Linked DNA regions of Homo sapiens: all the other regions are linked to region 5. The links are contacts of gene promoters, found by promoter capture Hi-C in blood cells and fetal thymus (Javierre and others, 2016). All regions are on one chromosome and are shown on one strand. Each heading gives the region's core, a stretch centred on a gene start or on the middle of the fragment in contact. The rest is flanking DNA. Distances are from core to core; before and after follow the strand shown.

The links. Contacts are between HindIII fragments. The CHiCAGO score rates a contact against its expected background, and 5 or more counts as called.
Region 1: a fragment that was not itself captured here is called in contact with the fragment with the promoter of SSX2IP in region 5 in 4 of 17 cell types (erythroblasts, total B cells, non-activated CD4 T cells and 1 more); the score reaches 8.9 in erythroblasts.
Region 2: a fragment that was not itself captured here is called in contact with the fragment with the promoter of SSX2IP in region 5 in 7 of 17 cell types (total CD4 T cells, total CD8 T cells, total B cells and 4 more); the score reaches 8.9 in total CD4 T cells.
Region 3: a fragment that was not itself captured here is called in contact with the fragment with the promoter of SSX2IP in region 5 in 6 of 17 cell types (total CD8 T cells, non-activated CD4 T cells, naive CD8 T cells and 3 more); the score reaches 6.8 in total CD8 T cells.
Region 4: a contact is called between the fragment with the promoter of BCL10 here and the fragment with the promoter of SSX2IP in region 5, in 3 of 17 cell types (naive CD8 T cells, activated CD4 T cells and total CD8 T cells). The highest score is 5.8, in naive CD8 T cells.
Region 6: a fragment that was not itself captured here is called in contact with the fragment with the promoter of SSX2IP in region 5 in 12 of 17 cell types (erythroblasts, fetal thymus, monocytes and 9 more); the score reaches 10.5 in erythroblasts.

Annotation. Positions count from the first base shown.
Region 1 is chr1:84,101,198-84,104,389 of GRCh38, forward strand. It overlaps a transcript of PRKACB not described here. Among named protein-coding and RNA genes, the nearest start is that of PRKACB, 41 kb to the right of the region's middle. The HindIII fragment of the contact is 3,291 bases long and covers 59-3,192 here.
Region 2 is chr1:84,167,228-84,170,103 of GRCh38, forward strand. All of the region lies in intron 1 of PRKACB (protein kinase cAMP-activated catalytic subunit beta), which reads left to right. Among named protein-coding and RNA genes, the nearest start is that of PRKACB, 24 kb to the left of the region's middle. The HindIII fragment of the contact is 735 bases long and covers 1,136-1,870 here.
Region 3 is chr1:85,252,534-85,255,576 of GRCh38, forward strand. It overlaps C1orf52 (chromosome 1 open reading frame 52), which reads right to left. Exons shown (of 3, transcript NM_198077.4): 3 at 1-169. The coding sequence ends at 96. Among named protein-coding and RNA genes, the nearest start is that of C1orf52, 5.6 kb to the right of the region's middle. The HindIII fragment of the contact is 2,205 bases long and covers 490-2,694 here.
Region 4 is chr1:85,275,117-85,278,043 of GRCh38, forward strand. It overlaps BCL10 (BCL10 immune signaling adaptor), which reads right to left and starts at 1,516. Exons shown (of 3, transcript NM_003921.5): 1 at 1,180-1,516. The coding sequence starts at 1,236. It overlaps BCL10-AS1 (BCL10 antisense RNA 1), which reads left to right and starts at 1,242. Exons shown (of 2, transcript NR_045484.1): 1 at 1,242-1,681; 2 at 2,525-2,927. RefSeq lists enhancers at 709-1,908, 1,114-1,816. The HindIII fragment of the contact is 19,185 bases long and covers 1-2,927 here.
Region 5 is chr1:84,689,125-84,692,114 of GRCh38, forward strand. It overlaps SSX2IP (SSX family member 2 interacting protein), which reads right to left and starts at 1,337. Exons shown (of 14, transcript NM_001166293.2): 1 at 1,247-1,337. RefSeq lists a silencer at 789-1,548. The HindIII fragment of the contact is 1,864 bases long and covers 1-1,809 here.
Region 6 is chr1:84,150,950-84,154,013 of GRCh38, forward strand. The region is part of intron 1 of PRKACB (protein kinase cAMP-activated catalytic subunit beta); the gene reads left to right. Among named protein-coding and RNA genes, the nearest start is that of PRKACB, 8.2 kb to the left of the region's middle. The HindIII fragment of the contact is 552 bases long and covers 1,456-2,007 here.

The DNA of each region.
Region 1 (3,192 bases), core at 454-2,953, 590 kb before region 5:
GGACCTCTCAATCACAGGCTGAAGCTGTACTTTACAGGCTGAGTTTCTTCTTCTGGGAAGCTTCAGTTCTGCTCTTAAGGGCTTTCAACTGATTGAGTCAGATCCACCCAAATTATCTATGGTAATCTCCTTTACTTGAAGTAAACTGACTGTGGACTTTAGTCACATCTACAAAATACCTTCACAGCAACACCTAGATCAGTGTTGAATAACTAACGACTATACCCTAGCCAAGTTGACACATAAAAATGTCCTGTAGGCATATTTTTTCCTTAAGCCCTGACAGGTTTGGGGGTTGGTGGTTCATTTTCCCAAGCCAGAAATGGAACTTCCTACTTTCTTTTTAACTTACATTTATTACTCATTCTTATCACCTCCTCATCTCCCATTACCACAGCCAAAAAAGATTTCAGGTGTTTTTCAATAGAAGGCATATATAACCTTTAAAGCAAAATTATAAATACAAGAGCCTTGAAATCAAAGGCAAGAAGATGGTTGAACCAATAAACCGATGTTGAAGCTAGTTACTGTATTTGAGCATAAAATTTAGCACTACATGGTGAGGATACAGTATAAAGCCACTTTCCTAGTGCCAAATTGTAACAGGAATTTAATCTATCTAAATACAGGGAGCAGTGATTTACATAATAAATGAGATAATTATTATTTAATAAAGATTTAGAGAATTCTCTAGATTCCTGTGTTCAAGAAGGAGGGCCTCAAAGCTGCCTGCAGTTATATTTTTATGATAATTATTTATTACTATCTCATGACTTAAAAATTTTCTTAACAAGTAAAATAACTACCTTTTAAAAAATACTGTAAGACCCTTTGCTATGACCTCAGATAATTTAAAGTGATGTCTCACAGACCTTTATTTAGACTGAAAGGCTTATAAAAATTTTGTGTGTGCCTGTAATCCCAGCACTTTGGGAGGCCGAGGTGGGCAGATCACGAGGTCAGGAGTTCAAGACCAGCCTGGCCAATGTGGTGAAACCCCATCTCTACTAAAAAAAAAAAAAAATACAAAACTACAAAAATTAGCTGGGCGTGGTGTTGGGCACCTGTAGTCCCAGCTGCTTGGGAGGCTAAGGTAGGAGAATCGCTTGAATCTGGGAGGCGGAGGTTGTAGTCAACCGAGATTGCGCCACTGCACTCCAGCCTAGGCGACAGAGCGAGACTCCATCTCAAAAAAAATAAAAAATGAAAACAAAAATGCAAAAAGAGAATCTTGTGTGTGGCTCACGTTACTCTAAATTAGACAGTTGGGGTTTTTAGAAATCTTAAGGACTTGTCCCATAGCAGTCTTATGTGAGGCCCAAGGTAGAGAAAGCCCTCTCCAAAGGGAATGTGGATGTGGCTTTTTGTCTCTTGGAATATATTAGAATTTGATAATATGAGAAACCCACAGAGTTTTAAAAGAAATTGTATTAATGTTGATTGAAAGGGTCAGAGATAATTAATAAGGAAAAAAGTGTACGGGCCCTCACCTACTGTGGAAAGGAAGCAGGCTGAAAAGCTACTCACCTCTTCACATAGGCCATTTCATGTGAAAGAATGATTGAGAGAGGGCAGCCAAGAAGCCAGAGAGTACAGCTAAGAGACAAGGAGAACTACTCTCAGGACTAATCAAGGAATGAGTGACATGTGCCCAACTGGACTTTAGAATTGCTATTGATGAGGGAGTGTTTATACCTCTTGTTTTCCCTCTTTTTGAATGGGAGTATCCATTGCAATTTCTATTCCTATCTCACCATCGTGTATTGGGCAGATAACTTGTCTCTTTAGTTCACAAGTCTTTAGATTAAGAGAAACTAAGTATGAGGAGTTGCACTCAGGAAACTGGATCTGAGAGGCCTCATCTATACCTGCATTTGATTTAGATTACATCCTGGACCTTAGGATAAGGCTTCTTGGGGTCTTGGAAGGAGTAAAGTATATTTTGAAAATGGAGGAGTATTCTGTGACAAAGTGAAGATGGCTACAAATTCTTAACCACCCTTTTCATCTAGAAGCATAGCATATTTCTTCATTCCACTGAATCTGGGCTGGGTTTCTCATTGCTTTAACCAGTATAATATGGTGGATGTGATGCTAGATCCGTTACAGGGTTGAGGCTCTGTCCTCTTTTAAGCGAACTGCTATGCAAGAAGTCTGACTATTCTGAGACCAACATGCTGTTCAAAGCCCAACTAGCCACTTAGAGAGAAAGAGACAGAGAGATGGGGTGTGGGGGTGGGGGGTAGAGAAAGAAAGAGAGAGATTGGTAGCACTAGATAAGGTGAATTATTTCATGGGCCTTTTAGTCAGCCCAGCCTTCAGCTGAAGACAGATGAGAGAGTGACTCAGCAAACAGTGTGAAGTGAGCCAGCAGACCTATGACCTCATTTGGGCTGTTCCAGCTTCTCGCAGCTGTTGAGCCACCCAGCTTAGACCCCAGACATTGTGGTATAGAGATGAACAGTTCCTACTGTGTGTTGCCCAAATTCTTGACCCAGAAAATTGTGAGCAAAATATGGTGATTGTTTGAAAACTAAGTTTGTTACATAACACAGATAACTGAAACACAAGTAGAAAAATTCTATCACCTGCCCAACCTCACAGAGCCAGTAAGAACTAGTGTTCTCCCCTTCCCTTTTATTTTTAGTTGACACATAATAATTGTACATATTTATAGGATACAGAGTAATATTTTGATACATATGTAATGTGTAATGATCAAATCAGGGTAATTAGTATTTCCTTACCATAAACATTTATCATTTCTTTGTGTTAGGAACATTTAAATCCTCTCTTGTACTTGAAAATGTACAGTAAATTATTGTAAATTATAGTCACCATACAGTGCTATGGAGCACTAGACCTTACTTTTCCTATCTAGCTGTGATTTTTTATCAGTTAACCTCTCTCTAATCTGTAGTAACCCACAATTATCTAATTCTCTTCCCAACTTTTAATAACCACAATTCTCCTATCTACTTGTATGAGCTCCACTTTTAAAAGCTCCCTCATATGGGTGAGAACATATGGTATTTTTCTTTCTGTACCTGACTGATTTCACTTAACATAACATCCTCTAGGCTCATCCATGTTGCCACAAATAACAGGATTTCATTCTTTGTTATGTCTAAATAGTAGGTCATTGTTTATATACATATATATACACTTTCTTTTTCTGTTAATCTGTTGATA
Region 2 (2,876 bases), core at 253-2,752, 520 kb before region 5:
TAAAATGCAAATATGCCCATTTTTTAAACTAACATGAAAACTTTCAGTTACTCCCTATTGCCTTTAAAATAAAAGTTAAACTCCTTATTAGGTCACATGCAATCAATGACTTACCTTTTTGGTTTTGTTTGCAAAATCTCTCTCACAAATTTTGATCTAGCCATACTATATTACATATAATTCCTTGCTACCTTTCCATATTTATAGTCTTTATCATAAAAATTTAGAGAACCAGTCATTACCTCCGACACTGACCCTGTGGAATTAGGTGATTTCTCTGTACTCCCAAAGCAAACTTACAAACTACAACAATTATTGTATTATATTGAAATTATAAATTTGTATGTCACTTTCTAATCTCTAAATGTTGAACTCAAGTCAAGGACAGTGCCTTATTCATTGTATGTTTCTAGTAGTCACCCCAGTACCCCAAACACAGCAAGGTACCCAATAAATACTTATAGAATTAATGATAAACTAAATATAATTCATTTTTACATACTTGAACAGTTCCCTTACATTGCCAGTGAAAAATACCAGTGTGGGTTTTGACTTTTTTTGGTTCAGAAAAATACAATAACCATAGTATTTACTTGTTCCTTTATCAACTTTGTAGGATGAAGTCATATAAAATGCTTAAGAAACTAAATTGTACCAGTCAGTACCTTTATCTTTCTAGTATTTAAAAAATTGGTTATATGTGAAAAGAGCCTTCACTTTCTAAATGTTTTTCTTACTCATAACTCTTTTTGTGAAGTTTTTGCCCTTGTTAAGCAAACAAGGTCTATAAAGAAATACTAAAGGAACTTCTCTGAAAATCAGTCAAACTATTGTAAGGCCCTTATGTTTAGAGGTTGTAGCAACTCACTCAAATAAGCTTAAGCAGAAGAAGATACAGGTATTATTGGGATGCAGAGGATGTCATGGAGCTCAAAGGCAAAAGTAGAGTTGAGCTGTTCCAAAGAGTAGAATTGATTTGGAAAGCTGACTGGAATCATAACAGTACCTTTCTCAGTTTTTCTCTCTGAGATCACATGACGTCTTTACTTTTTTCCTTGTATTTGCTTTATTATCCTCACTGTGTAGCGAATAGGTTTCTCTGATGCTTGTGCAAAATGGAGCTTAGTCATCTGAAAGCTTCAAAGTTTATGTGCTCTCCTAGTTCATGTGCTTTTTGATGTAACTAGCATCATTATATCAAAATCCTGGGTGAGAATCCTGGCCCAGCTGTAGTTGAGGGCAAATCTCTGAAGAAGAAGGCATGAATCTGCTATGAATTACAGCACCATACAGACTTGAATACCAACACTTCATTAATTTCCCTTTCTAGATTCTGACTGAAAATACTGTGAGAAAAAAAATTGGGAAAGCAGTACATCATTTCTGAAATTAAAGATGGTTATTTGCCCAAATATGTACAGGATTTTGATGATCAGACTCCAAAGTCTAATTAACAGTTTTAACTTGAGTAGCTTTTCTTTATGGAAAAGAAAGAAATAATAGTTTCACCCTCACTAACTGGGAGGGATGAGGAAAATAAGTGGAAGATCCAACACTGCTCATTACTTTCATTCTAAAACAGCTATAGTGGGACAACCAAGAATGTATTAGGCCTTTTCAAGTTGAAAAGTGGCCTCTCTTTAAATATAGAAGGCTCTTTCCTGACATAGAAGGCATCACTACCAGCAAGGAATCCTATAGTCCTGGCCACATTCCCATTTATGAAGGTCACTGGATTACTTACCTGATAATGTAAATATGTGTACGCTAAATGATGTGAAGAGTTTAGTCTAACAGCATCTAAACAGGAAATGAGAAGGGCCAAAGAAAAACCACTTACCTTATTTGGGGCATTTGTAAAGTTTTGAAAAGCTTGTAATTGTTCTTGAATGAATAAAAAAGAAAAGCAACAATGTGGAACCTATAAAAGAGGTTATACACCATAAAACGATAAAGTTACAGTCTCCAAGAGGTAGAGAATGAACTTATATTTAGAAAATATTTGTGCAGGAGAGTATAAACACAAAAAATTATAGATGCCATCTGTGTTAATTCTTAAAATTTCAAGTGAGCATGGAGTTAGTGAACTAAGACATGAAACAAAGATAAAACAAGAACCTAGAATGAAAAGATTACTGGCTGAGAGGCAGGAATGGAAAAGAAGCATAATGTTGTGATAGGAAAAAGTTGTAAGAAATAAACCTGGCATTTTTAGAATATAAAGCTGCATTAGAGGCAATAAAAACCAGAATAATCATTGCAGAAAAGTAAATTAATAATGTGAAGATCTCTCCAGATAGACCCTAATAGAATGTAGAGGAAATGGACAAGATAAAAATTATAAGATGGAAAGTATGTTAAATAAAAGCAGGACAAGAAATTATAAAAGAAAATAAAAGGACATTTTACAAATTGAATGGATAGCATTCCACAGAACAGAGCAGATATGATTTATAGAACAGAAAAGCAGTAATCAAAAATATGATTCAGGAAAACTTGTTAGTTGAAGAAAAACTTGAATCTTTAAATTGAAAGACCTCATTTTGTTTTGACAAGATTAACAAAGATGCCAATGCCTAAATACATCCTGGTGAGCATTTGGAATTTCCAGCATAAAAAAATGAAATCCATAAACATTCTGATGTCTTTGCATCTTACAATCTAACATGAAGCTTGTCCTATAAAGAAAAAAATGCAAAATTGGAGACTAGATAACTTAAAAATCTTTTGAGGGCAGAAATTATTTAAGATCAACAGCACCTTGAAATGCTGAATAAACTGTAACAAGTGCCCCTTTAAATGAATACCTGAATTTACCCTTTAAGTGAATTCTAATTTAATTAAAATTAAATAAATTCCCAAAGTGCAAAAATTGA
Region 3 (3,043 bases), core at 342-2,841, 560 kb after region 5:
TGGAGATGTGGCATAATAACCCACAATATCAACTTAATCTGTCCAAAGAAACATTTCAACAAGTTTAGCAGTACAGAAATTCTGGTCATTTGTTTCTACTTTTTCTTCTTTGCTGGTTCTCCTGGCTCTACTTTGCGCTTTTTAGAAGTATGCTCATCTTTTTCATCATCTTTAAATAGAAAAGGAAGAGTTTCAATCAGTAATTTTAAAAAACCCAACATGTTAAGCATTAAAATTTCACTGGCTTTATACCAAAATTATTACCCTCATCAATTAATGTTTCTCTCAGAGTTTCCCAATAAAAAACAAGAATTAACTTTTAGAGCTCTGATTTTTAAATGCAAGTGAAAGTGAGCAATTTTTTTTTTCAATTGCAGCCATACAAAATTCACAAAGTAACTCTTTAGGTGCTATACTAAGGTAGCTTAAAATAAGTGACTTTACTTCCCCCAAATCAGACTTTTGAAAAAGGCTCCCAAATACTCAGCAAGCTTGTCCAACCTGCCTTATTTGTTGTTGTTGTTCTGTTTTGTTTTAGGCTTTTAGCAGCCTGAAGCCATGGTTTTTAGTTTCTGTCTCTAGTGATAAGCAGAAAAGAAGGATGATGAAGGGGCTTTATTGGCCCAACCAATAACAGAAACTAAGAACTCATGACTGTATTCTCTCCCTTGGACACCACTGCATGATAGTATTTACATTGTATATATTAAAATACAATCAATGCTTTGTAAGAATGGAGCATATTGTTTTCTTTTTACAAAAAATAGGTATCACTCTAACGATGACATTATTTAAGTGGCTATCAGCTGTCCTTTTCCTTTCAATCTGCTTTCTCTCCTCCAAAAACAACTTCTTCTGCCCCATCACCTTCTCCACCCACCCCAAATCCTTATTTTGAGGTTAAAAAGCACTCACAAGTAGGTTTCCCCAAACCTCTATTTGGAATTTTATTCTAGTAAGTTCTAATTCCCATCCCCGCCCTCCCCATCCCCACTCCCACGATGGCCAGAACATTTTAATGGCAACAGAAAAATACATATCTTCCTACTTCATATTATGGAGAATTTGGAGAGGGGAGGGAGGTTAGAGAAGAGCCTTACATTAAAACAATGTTCTTTACACCTTTCCAAAATGTTAATAGTATCTGTAGCCACAGAAAATTTCCAATTCATAAAAATGTTGTCAAACCTGGAAAAGTGAACTCTTTTATTGTATTTTAAAAAATCCAACTACATGGTTAAAAAAAAAATACAGGGTAGCACAGACTAGTTGCTAATTCCATCTCCCTAAGCAAATGTGTGGTATTAAGAACTCCATATAGACAGAGTAACATGGAAAAGATGTTATGATTTATAAAATACAAATTTATTTTGAGCACATTACTAATTAATTGTAGCTTTTGACTTTATTTTCTTGATCAACAGATACTCAAAAAGTTCAACAGGTTATCATGTGGAGATCTATAAAATATCTTGATATTGAAAGGAGCCTTCATTATTAAAAAATGTGAGGAACTACTGACATCAAATCATAAATTCCTTGAAGGAAATATTAAAATCTTAAGCCTTCAATTCCCTTCTGCTGACTGTACCATAATCAGAATATCTCATTTATTGATGCAGATAACAATCAATACCATTCATCTTCACTCCCCTTCAAGCACAGCACGGTGATGTTATTCATATGCTTCACAGAGCACTATGGATTTATGTAGGCAGTGGAATAAAATACAATTCAGATCAACTCACCCCAGGAATTTACAAATCAAAGTTTTAATCAGTAGTTCATCATGTTCATACAAAAACACTGGCTCCACAAACCAAATAACATGGTATACCACCAAAACAAGCCAAACGTTTTGCTTTTTTTTTTTTTTGAGATGGAGTCTTGCTCTGTTGCCCAGGATGGAGTGCAGTGGCACCATCTCAGCTCATTGTAATCTCCACCTCCCAGGTTCACGCCATTCTCCTGCCTCAGCCTCCCAAGCAGCTGGGACTACAGGTGCCTGCCATCACACCCAGCTAATTTTTTGTATTTTTAGTAGAGACGGGGTTTCACGGTGTTAACCAGGATGGTCTCTATCTCCTGACCTCGTGATCCACCCACCTCGGCCTCCCAAAGTGCTGGGATTACAGGCGTGAGCCACCGCACCCGGCACCTTTTGCTTTTTAACGAGTTAATTATCACTAAGCTCCTCTTTTGAGATTTTCAGTAGTGATAATATAAAAATGGAAAGTACTAAGTTTACTATAATATTCACTATGCATTAGCATACATTTAGATGATACTGAGATATTTTTGCTTTTAATTTGCCACTTATTACAAGTAAATTAACTGAATAACAAAACCACAAACTACTGAAGTTAAAAAGTAACTGGCTATCAGTGATTTGAGCAGAAGTGCTATGCCATCTAGTGTCATGACAAGGCATTGCTTTATAAACTAGAGTAGGAAAAAATCTGAGCAATGTTCATTTATCAATTTTACTGAGCTTTTTTACTCGGTCTCATATAGTATAGATGTACTGGTAAGGAAACAATTTTTTTATTATGGAACTCAAATCACTCAAGTAAGTTTAACTTATCAATAGACAAACTTTCTAAATTCTAAAAAGTGTAAACTAAAAATCACTATATTAATTATGCTTTTACAATTAATTATTATACATGTCAATAAAGCTACAACTAATAACTAAGCTTTGCTTACCTACATTTTACAACCACTAAAACCAGAAGTGGCAGGGTGCGGTGGCTCACACCTGTAATCCCAGCACTTTGGGAGGCTGAAGCGGGCGGATCACGAGGTCAGGAGATCGAGACCACCCTGGCCAACATGCTGAAACCCCATCTCCACTAAAAATACAAAAATTAGCTGGGCGTGGTGGCGTGTGCCTGTAGTCCCAGCTACTTGGCAGGCTGAGGCAGGAGAATCGCTTGAACCCGGGAGGCGGAGGTTGCAGTGAGCCGAGATCACACCACTGCACTCCAGCCTGGGCGACAGAGCGAGACTCCATCTCAAAAAAAAAAAAAAACCCGAAGGGCTG
Region 4 (2,927 bases), core at 266-2,765, 590 kb after region 5:
ATAGGAGGCCTAGCTCTTGGAAGTTCAAGGTTTTACTGGCACTCACCATGAATAAGACAACATTTATTCTACAGTAGTTATTTATGTTCCATTCTTATCTCAACTAGAATGTAAAGCAGGAAACTGATCTTCATTTTTTTGTATCCTTCCAGACCCAAGGCCAGTGCTTTCCATATAGCAAGTGCTCCATAAATCTCTGTTGAATGAGGAAACTAAGCACAACTCCCAGTCATATCCAGTTTCCTTCTGCTGGTGAGTCACACCAATTGTGAGTACAGTGTAATAAACCTTACAGGGAAGAGGAAGGGATTTGAAGTGGATGAACATTTAAAAAGTTGCCATCCTGTCCAGTTCATCAAAATGACTTTGTAAAAGTACTGCAGTGTTCAATAAGAACACGTTTCATGTTGAGTTTCTGTTTTTCATTTGACTTCAGATAAAGTATTTTAGTGATACTCATATAGGTCTCATCTGACAAAACAAGTAAACGCAAAGGAAAAAGAATGTCATATCTCAACAAAGCCATTCGTTACGAATAAATATGAAGGTTTATGTGGTTCTGCACCATCCGAGAAGAGCATAATTTAGCTACTGAATATTTTCGACGTTTACCTGTACATTAATTCTCAGCTACGTGTATTCACTCCCCCAACCCCAATTTAAATATGTGGGCGTCTGCTTACTAGGGGAATTCCAGGTTGTGCTTTCAGCTGTTGAGCTTCCTCAAGCCCCCTTATGCAAAAGAGCTTCACATTTTTGGTCCACTGCTTGGGATCCTTCACCTGGTACAGCCTTCGCTCTAGGCTGAGTGAGCAGCCTAGGCAGCCTGACTTAAGGATGAATCTGAGCCGCCAGTCCCTAACGAAGCATCTCCAAGAACCCAGTTGGGGGGAAAGCATGAGGAGATGGGTGAGGAGTGGGCAAGAATCAAAACACCACTTGGCAACAAAGCCCAAGCTCTGCGTTTAGCGATGTAAAACCTGGATTGACAGATCACTGGAGGATCACTGCCACCAAGGTCCCTCGGATGCAGGGCTCGCCACAGTCCTCCTGTGCTAGGACTTTCCGCTCCTCCGACCTGGAGGATCCTCCTTGTCCTCGGACTCCAGGCTTCCGCTTTCGTCTCCCGCTGGGCTGCAGCCCGCCCCCGCCCGCCCTGGGCACAGCTGCGTTACTCACGTCCTTCTTCACTTCAGTGAGGTCCTCCTCGGTGAGGGACGGTGCGGTGGGCTCCATGGTGGAGGCGGGAGATGGCGCTTCTTCCGGGTCCGGGAGCTCGGGCTGCGCCGCCCCGCCCTGGCTGGGGGCTTCGGCCTCCGGGTAATGGGGAAGAAGGAGAGGAGGCGGAGCGGGTCGGGAGAAAGACGGCCGCCCCTTCGGGAACAGAGGGACTCGGGGGTCAAACCGTAGCGCTTCCGGCCCCGCCTCTGAGGTCGACGGCGACGCGAATCTACGCGACGCGACGCGGAGCTCGGAGCAGCGTTCCTTCCCTCTCGTAGAGGCTCAGGCGCAGGCACCGCCCCACGGCGAGGCGCGTCGCTTAGCAGAGCCCGCCCTGTCTCTGCGGCAGCCTATCGACGCCAGCCCGCGGGCCGATCCTGTTCCCGCCCCCGACCGGAGCCTTTCGGGTGGCTCCGCCCACAGCGGGCGTTTCCTCAAGCCACGCCTGCGCAGGTCGTCGGTAAGTGGCCCGGGTTAGCTTCCTCATAAGGCATCGTTTCCGTGGGTGGGGTCCGTCAGTGCCCAGGCAGCTGGCACTCTCAGCCTTTGCTGCCTGCTCACTTCGGGGGAGTCCGGTCTGGGCTTGTCAGTACCTTGGGTTCCTCCCCTTTTCCCAGACCCTGCCCTACAATTTCCTGTTGTTACGTTTGCCAGTTACTGTTTTGGTCACACACAAACGCACTCATACACACATACACATGCATACACACAAACAGCCTAACTACAATACTAAACAAATTTTTGAAAGAAAAAAAGAAACCACCTACAATCCCACCACTTTAACACCTCATTTAACGTTTGCATACTTTTTGGTCACTGTTCATTATAAACATAGCTTTTCCTCATTAGTTAATCTGTGTAATGGAGATAGATATGCTTACCTTTTAGGGCTGCCGGGATCATATGTAAAGTTCTTAAAGGTAGTTGGGCACACAGTATGCACTCAACTGATTATTTATTTATTTATTGAGACAGGATCTCACTCTGTCGCCCAGGCTGGAGTGCAGTGGTGCGATTCTCGGCTCACTGCAGCTTCCACCTCCAGGGCTCAGGCGATCCTTCCACCTCAGCCACCAAGCAGCTGGGAGTCCAGCTAGTTTTTTTGTATTTTTTATAGAGATGGAGTTTCGCCATGTTGCCCAGGCTGGTCTCAAACTCCTGGGCTCAAGCCATCCACCCGCCTCGGCTTCCCAAAGTGCAGGGACTACAGGCATGAGCCACCCAGCTCATCCTACTCAAACATTTATTGAGTCCTTACTAATATGTTCTAGGCAACTTATACTATGAGTCCTCCATTTTATAGGGGGAGACTGATGAAGAGACGACTATCCCCAGACCGTATTTTAACTACTATGGCGCTGTGTAAGAAGCAACCTGAGAAGTGTGGATGAAAAGCTACAGGTAGAGCCCTGGGCCCAAGACGGTGGCTTGGACAACATGCTAAATAAACTATAAACTAGATGGTATTTGAAGCTACGAGAGTAGATAAAAATGACAGGAGGACCAAGGAGAAACTTGGGAACGCCAATGTTTAAGAAACGGGAAAGCAAAAAAAAAAAAAAACACACACAAAAAAACAATGTAACCAGAGCCACAAAAACCAGAATCACAGCAAGGGATTCTGATGTTTACATTATGTCCTGTTTCCATGTTGACACATTACACAAGGACAGTTTTTTTCTAATTGCTTAATTTTTCATCATCTT
Region 5 (2,990 bases), core at 87-2,586:
TTTTGCCGACTGGATCCAAATTCATAAATCTACCTCTAACTTCTAAATTTCAAAATAGCTTGACGTGAACTTTAAAGGCATTTCTTTCCTCTCCAAATTTCTAATTCTTTACAAATTTTATTCACTCTCCTAAATGAGTCAACTCATACCAACCTTTCTAGTTCAGGATCAAACTGTAGGATCACCAGAATTTTCTTCTACCCCACAGTAAGCCAAACCCCCATGAACCATGAAAAGGTCCATGACATCCATCACCCACAGCTAACTCTACACCTTGACTCTAATCTGAATTGTTAGAAAGCCCAGGAAGTTCAAGAAGCCTCCACCCTTACACTTCTAAATCACCTTCTTTTCTAATCCTCAACCTATTACAGCGTCCAGAAAAGAGAAATCTCAATTCTCTCAGATTCAAGAACTTTATCAGCGTTGCTAGTAATCGCAGTTTGGCATTTACAACTATGGGTCCTGAAACTGGGTAATAATCTAAAAATTCCTACATTATACGTGCAGACAGCAAATTAGTATATTCTATGTCCTGGGCCCAAGCGATATGCCTAACTGGGCAATCAGCATAGGCTCAAAAAATGTGCAGGGAGCTCACAATTCAGTTTACTGTCGTTGACTATAAAATTCTAAACCAAAGTATTTTCATGATAAAATTATAAACCAAAGTATTTTCACACATGCCTGCCTCTTGGATGATGTAAATTCTTCCCCTAGACTTTTTACTAGACCACTATCGGGGTTCTCTTCCACTGCAGCGGCCACCCAATAACTCGTTTTAAAGACTGCCTCTTGCGGCTGCACTAGCAAATCGCCAAACCCCGCATGCCCCACGGCCGCTGCTGAGACTCTGCAGCCCCAAATCGGCCATCCCCTCCTCCCCCACGTCCCCGCGCTGCTCGTCCCCCAACGCCGGGCGCCAACCTTGCTCCATCCCAGAGAGGGTTTGGGGCTCCCCGGGTCAGAGCGCTCCGCAGGCGCAGCTCCGCGAACGCCAGCGAGAGCGGTCCCGGGGCCAGCACCTACCTCCCACCTCCTCCTCCAGGAGCGGCCCGGGTCGACGCTCGCCCGCACCCTGCAACGGCCCCAACAGCCGCGCGGAGCCTCCCGCCGAACAACGGGGCGCTGAGCCAGGTGCCGGCTCTCACCTCCGCGCGCGCCCGCCCCTTGCCGGCGCCCACCCCCGCCCGCCCCTCCCTGGCGGGGCGCGTCACAATCCCCGACGCGAGGCGCTGCTGCTCACCGTCACGGCCCCCGGGAGCGGCGGGGAGTCACCGCTCGGCGTCCTAGCCCGGCTCCCGCAGCCCGAGGGCCAGCAGCGCCTCGCAGCGCCTCCCGCCCGCGGCCCCTCCTCCGCTGCGGGCTCCCGCCTTCCCCGCCCCTTGCAGCCGCCTCCCGGCCTCCGCAGGTTTCCGAGGTTCCCACCCCGCCCCCGCGCGCCGGCGCCGCAGGCCCCGCCGCCTCCCATTGGCTCCGCCAGTTGCTAGGCGATGAACAACCGTGGCCTGCATTGGTCGGGTGGGGGCCTCGGTAGTCTCCTCCTTACCTCCAAAAAAACCCGGAGAAAAAGAAGACCTTATCCCTGCGGTCCGCGCGCGCTGCGGGCGCAGCTGCGGCTGCGGCACCTGTTACGCCCAGTGATTCACCCGGCCGTTTTCTGCTCCCCGCCCCCTTCTGACGCCTGCAGCGTCCGGGGCCGGGGCTCTGTGGGGGCCGGGACTCTGCAGGGACCGGGGTCGTGGCTACTTTAGAGCACGTTTTCCGAGCCCCACTGAACCCCAACACCCAGCCTAGCAGCAAAAGTGAAGCTTCCAGGAGAGCCACGTGCGTTTGCCAAAGTGGAGAAATAAACTGCGGGCACCTAGAATTAGGTCAGGTCCAAGGAACGGGAGGTTCAAGCGTCGGGAGTCGTGGATGCAAACAATCCAGCCGGGAGAAAGTTATATGTAAAATTAGGGCGAAGAAATGGATCTGGGCAGAAGACCGCGGGCAAAGGAAAGACTAAGAAATAGCATTCGTGAACTCAGTTTATGCAAAAATGTCTTACACCCACTCGACAAAGTATGTGCGATGAAAATGTATGCCTGCTGCACCCGTGGCCAGGGTCAGGCTGTCTCCTCCCTGGTTTCATGGCAGCCTAAAATTCACTGGGGAAGAAAAGAAAAGAGGCCAGAGAAAGGAGATCAGATGGAGAAATCACAGGCATATAGGTTACACAAAGATGTTCTTTGATTTTTGTTTTGTTTAGTTTTGGTGAAGCCAAGGGATTTATTCAAAAGGCGAAAAACAGGTTTGGTGTTTTAAGGAGACTCCTGAGAGCACTTTGAAACCAAAACAGTATGAGTGAAGATGCTAACACTGAAAAACAAGAGCGGGAGGAATGTCCACCTCCCAGTTTGCATGCACGTATCCCCAATCCTGGATGAAAGATCAGGGCCAGAAGAAGCACGCCACGGTGACAACTTCAGGGCCCAACGAAATCCTCCTCTTTTCCTTTGGCCAAGCAATCAGAGGCCCGTCTAGCTGCTGTTGAGCCCAGGTGGCGTTACCATTAACAGTTACATTTTTAAAAGGTTTGAACCAAGCTTAGTTGAGCTCTGGGAAGTTTAGCTCTGACCTCAGCAACCCCGGGAAAGGAATAAGATCTGCCTGAATAAACCAGCGGTCTCAATCTTTTGGTCTCAAGACCGCTTTCCACTTGTAAAATTATTGAGAGCCCCAAGAACTTTTCTTTATGTTGGTTACAGCTATTAATATTAAAACAGAAATTTAAAAATTGCTATTTTTTAAAATAATAATGAATAAAAATAAAAATGTCAAATAGCGCATTTTAATTAAAAATAACTATTTTCAAAAAATTAGTTAAAAGAATGGTGTTACTTTAAAATTTTGCCCATATCTTTAATGTCTTGCTTAATAGAAGGCATTTGGATTTTCATATCTGTTTGTGCATTCGATCTGTTGTGCTATTTCAGGTAGCGTCTGGA
Region 6 (3,064 bases), core at 482-2,981, 540 kb before region 5:
GTATACTTGACAAATAAAATTGCGTATATTTATAATGTACAACATGATGGTTCAATATAAGTATACATTGTGAAATGACTAAAACAAATGAATATCCACCTCACATAGTTACTTTTTCATGGCAAAAAATTTAAGATTGAATCTCTTAGCAATTTTCATGTAGTCATACCTCAGAGATACTGCAGGTCCAGTTCCAGACCACCACAATACAACTAAAGTCACAGTAAAGCAAGTCACACATTTTTTGGTTTCCCAGTGCATTTAAGTTATGTTTACTCTATAGTCTATTCAGTGTGCAATAACATTATATCTTTTTAAAAGTACATATCTTAATTTGAAATTATTTTATTGCTAAAAAAATACTAATGATCATCTCAGCTTTCAGCATTTCCCAATTTTTTTGCTGGTGGAGGGTCTTGCATTGATGTTTGCCTGCTGATTGATCAAGGTGATGGTCGCTGAAGGTTGGGATGGCAGTGGCAATTTCTTAAAATAAGACAACAAAGTGACACACTTGACTGACTCTTATTTTCATAAAAGATTTCTCTGTAGCATGTGATGTTTTTGGTAGCATTTTACCCACAGTAGAACTTCTTTTAAAATTGGAGTCAGTTCTCTCAAACCTTGTTACTGCTTTACCAACTAAGTTGATGTAATATTCTAAATTCTCAGGTGTCATTTCAATAATCTTCACAGCATCTTCACCAGAAATAGATTCCATCTCAAGAAACTACTTTCTTTGCTCATCTGCAAGAAGCAACTCCTCACTCGTTATAGTTTTATCAGGAGATTGCAGCAATAGAGTCACATCTCCAGGCTCCACTTTTAATTCTAATTATCTTGTAATTTTTTACCACATCTGCAGTGACTTTCTCCACTGAAATTTTAAACCGCTCAAACGCATCTATGAGAGTTGGAAACAACTTCTTCCAAACTCCTGTTGATGTTGATATTCTGACCTCCTCCCATAAATCACAATGTTCTTACGGCATCTGGAATGGTAACTCCTTTTCAGAAGGTTTTCAATTTACTTTGCCCAGATCCATCAGAGGAATCACTATCTGTGACACCTTTAGCCTTATAAAATATATTTCTTAAATAATAAGACCTGATCCATGCCTGCAGAATGGATGTTGTGTTATCAGGCATGAAAACAACGTTCATCTCCTTGTACATCGAGCTCTTGGGTGATCAGGTGCATTGTCAATTAGCACTAATATTTTAAAAGGAATCTTTTTCTGAGTGGTTCCCAATGGTGGGCTTAAAATAGTAAACAATGCTGCAAACAGATATGGTGTCATCTAGCCTTTCACATTCCATTTATAGAGTACAGGTAGAGTAGATTTAGCATAGTTTTTGAGGGCACTAAGAGTTTCTAAATGGTAAATGAATATTGGCTTCAATTTGAAGTCACCAGATGTATTAGCCCCTAGCGAGAGTCAGCCTGTCCTTTGAAGCTTTGAAGCCAGGCATTGCCTTCTCTCTAGCTAGGAAAGTTCTAGATGGCATCTTCTTCCAATAGAGCACTGTTAATTCTGCATTGAAAATCTGTTGTTTAGTCTAGCCACCTTCATCAATTATTTTAGCTAGATCTTCTGGATAACCTGGTGCAGCTTCTCCATTAGCACTTGCTGCTTCACCTTGTACTTTTATGTTATAGAAAGGGCTTCTTTCCTTTAAACCTCATGAACCAACCTCTGCTAGCTTCAGACTTCTGCAACTTCCTCACCACTCTTAGCCTTTATAGAATTGAAGAGTGTCAAGGCCTTGTTCTTAATTAGGCTTTGGCTTAAGGAAATGCTATGACTGGTTTGATCTTTCCAGACCACACAACTTTCTCTATATCAACAATAAGGCTGTTTTGCCTTCTTATCATTAGTGTGTTCACTGGAGCAGCACTTTTAGTTTCCTTCAGTAACTTTTTTCTTTTGCATTCTCAGCTTGGCTGTATGGTGCAAGAGGCCTAGCTTTTGGCCTGTCTCAGCTTTCAACATACCATCCTTACTAAGCTTAATCATTTCTAGCTTTTGATTTGAAGTGAGAGATGTGCAATTCTTCCTTTCGTCTGAACACTAAGAGGCCATTGTAAGGCTATTGATCGGCGTAATTTCAGTATTGCTGTGTCTTAGGGAATAGGAAGGCCCAAGGAGAGGGAGAGAAATGGGGGACTAGCTGGTGAGTGGAGCAGTCAGAGCACACACAACCCTTATCAATTAAGCTCACCATTTTATTTGGGTGCAGTTTGTGGTGCCCTAAAACAGTTAAAATAGTAACATCTGAACACAGATCGCCATAACAGATATAATAATAATGAAAAAGGAAATATTGTGAAAATTATTAAAATGTGACACAGAGACATGAAGTGAGCACATGCTGTAAGAAAAATGGCACCAACAGATTTGCTTGACACAAGGTTGCCCCAACCCTCAATTTGTGAAAAGTGCAATATCTGCTGAGTGCAATAAAGCAACACACAATAAAATGAGGGGTGTGCCTGTATTAATGCATTATTATTAACTGCAGTTACCATTCTATACGATGAATCTCCAGGACTTATTCATCCTGTCTAAGTGAAATTTTGTACCCTTTAGCCAACATCTCCTAAATCTTCCTTCCCTGAACCCTCCCATCCTTCAGCCCCTGACAACCAGCATTCTATTCTCTACTTCTGCGATTTTGATGTTTTTAGGTTCCACATGTGTGACATTATGCAATATTTGTGTTTCTGTGTCTGCCTTATTTCACTTAATATAATGTCTTCCAGGTTCATTCACTCTATCACAAATGAAAGAATTTCCTTCTTTCTTAAGGTTGATAGTGTATTCCAGTGTGTAGAATACCATACGTCGATGCCATATCTTGTGAATAATGCTGTAATGAACATGGGAGTACAGATATCTAGATATCTCTTAGACATACTGATTTCTTTCTTTTGATACATACTTAGAAGCTGGATCATATGATAGTTCATTTTTAATTTTTTGAGGATCCTTCATATCATTTTCCATAATGGCTGTACTAATGTATATTCTCACCAACAGTGTGCAAGGGTTCTGTTTTCTCC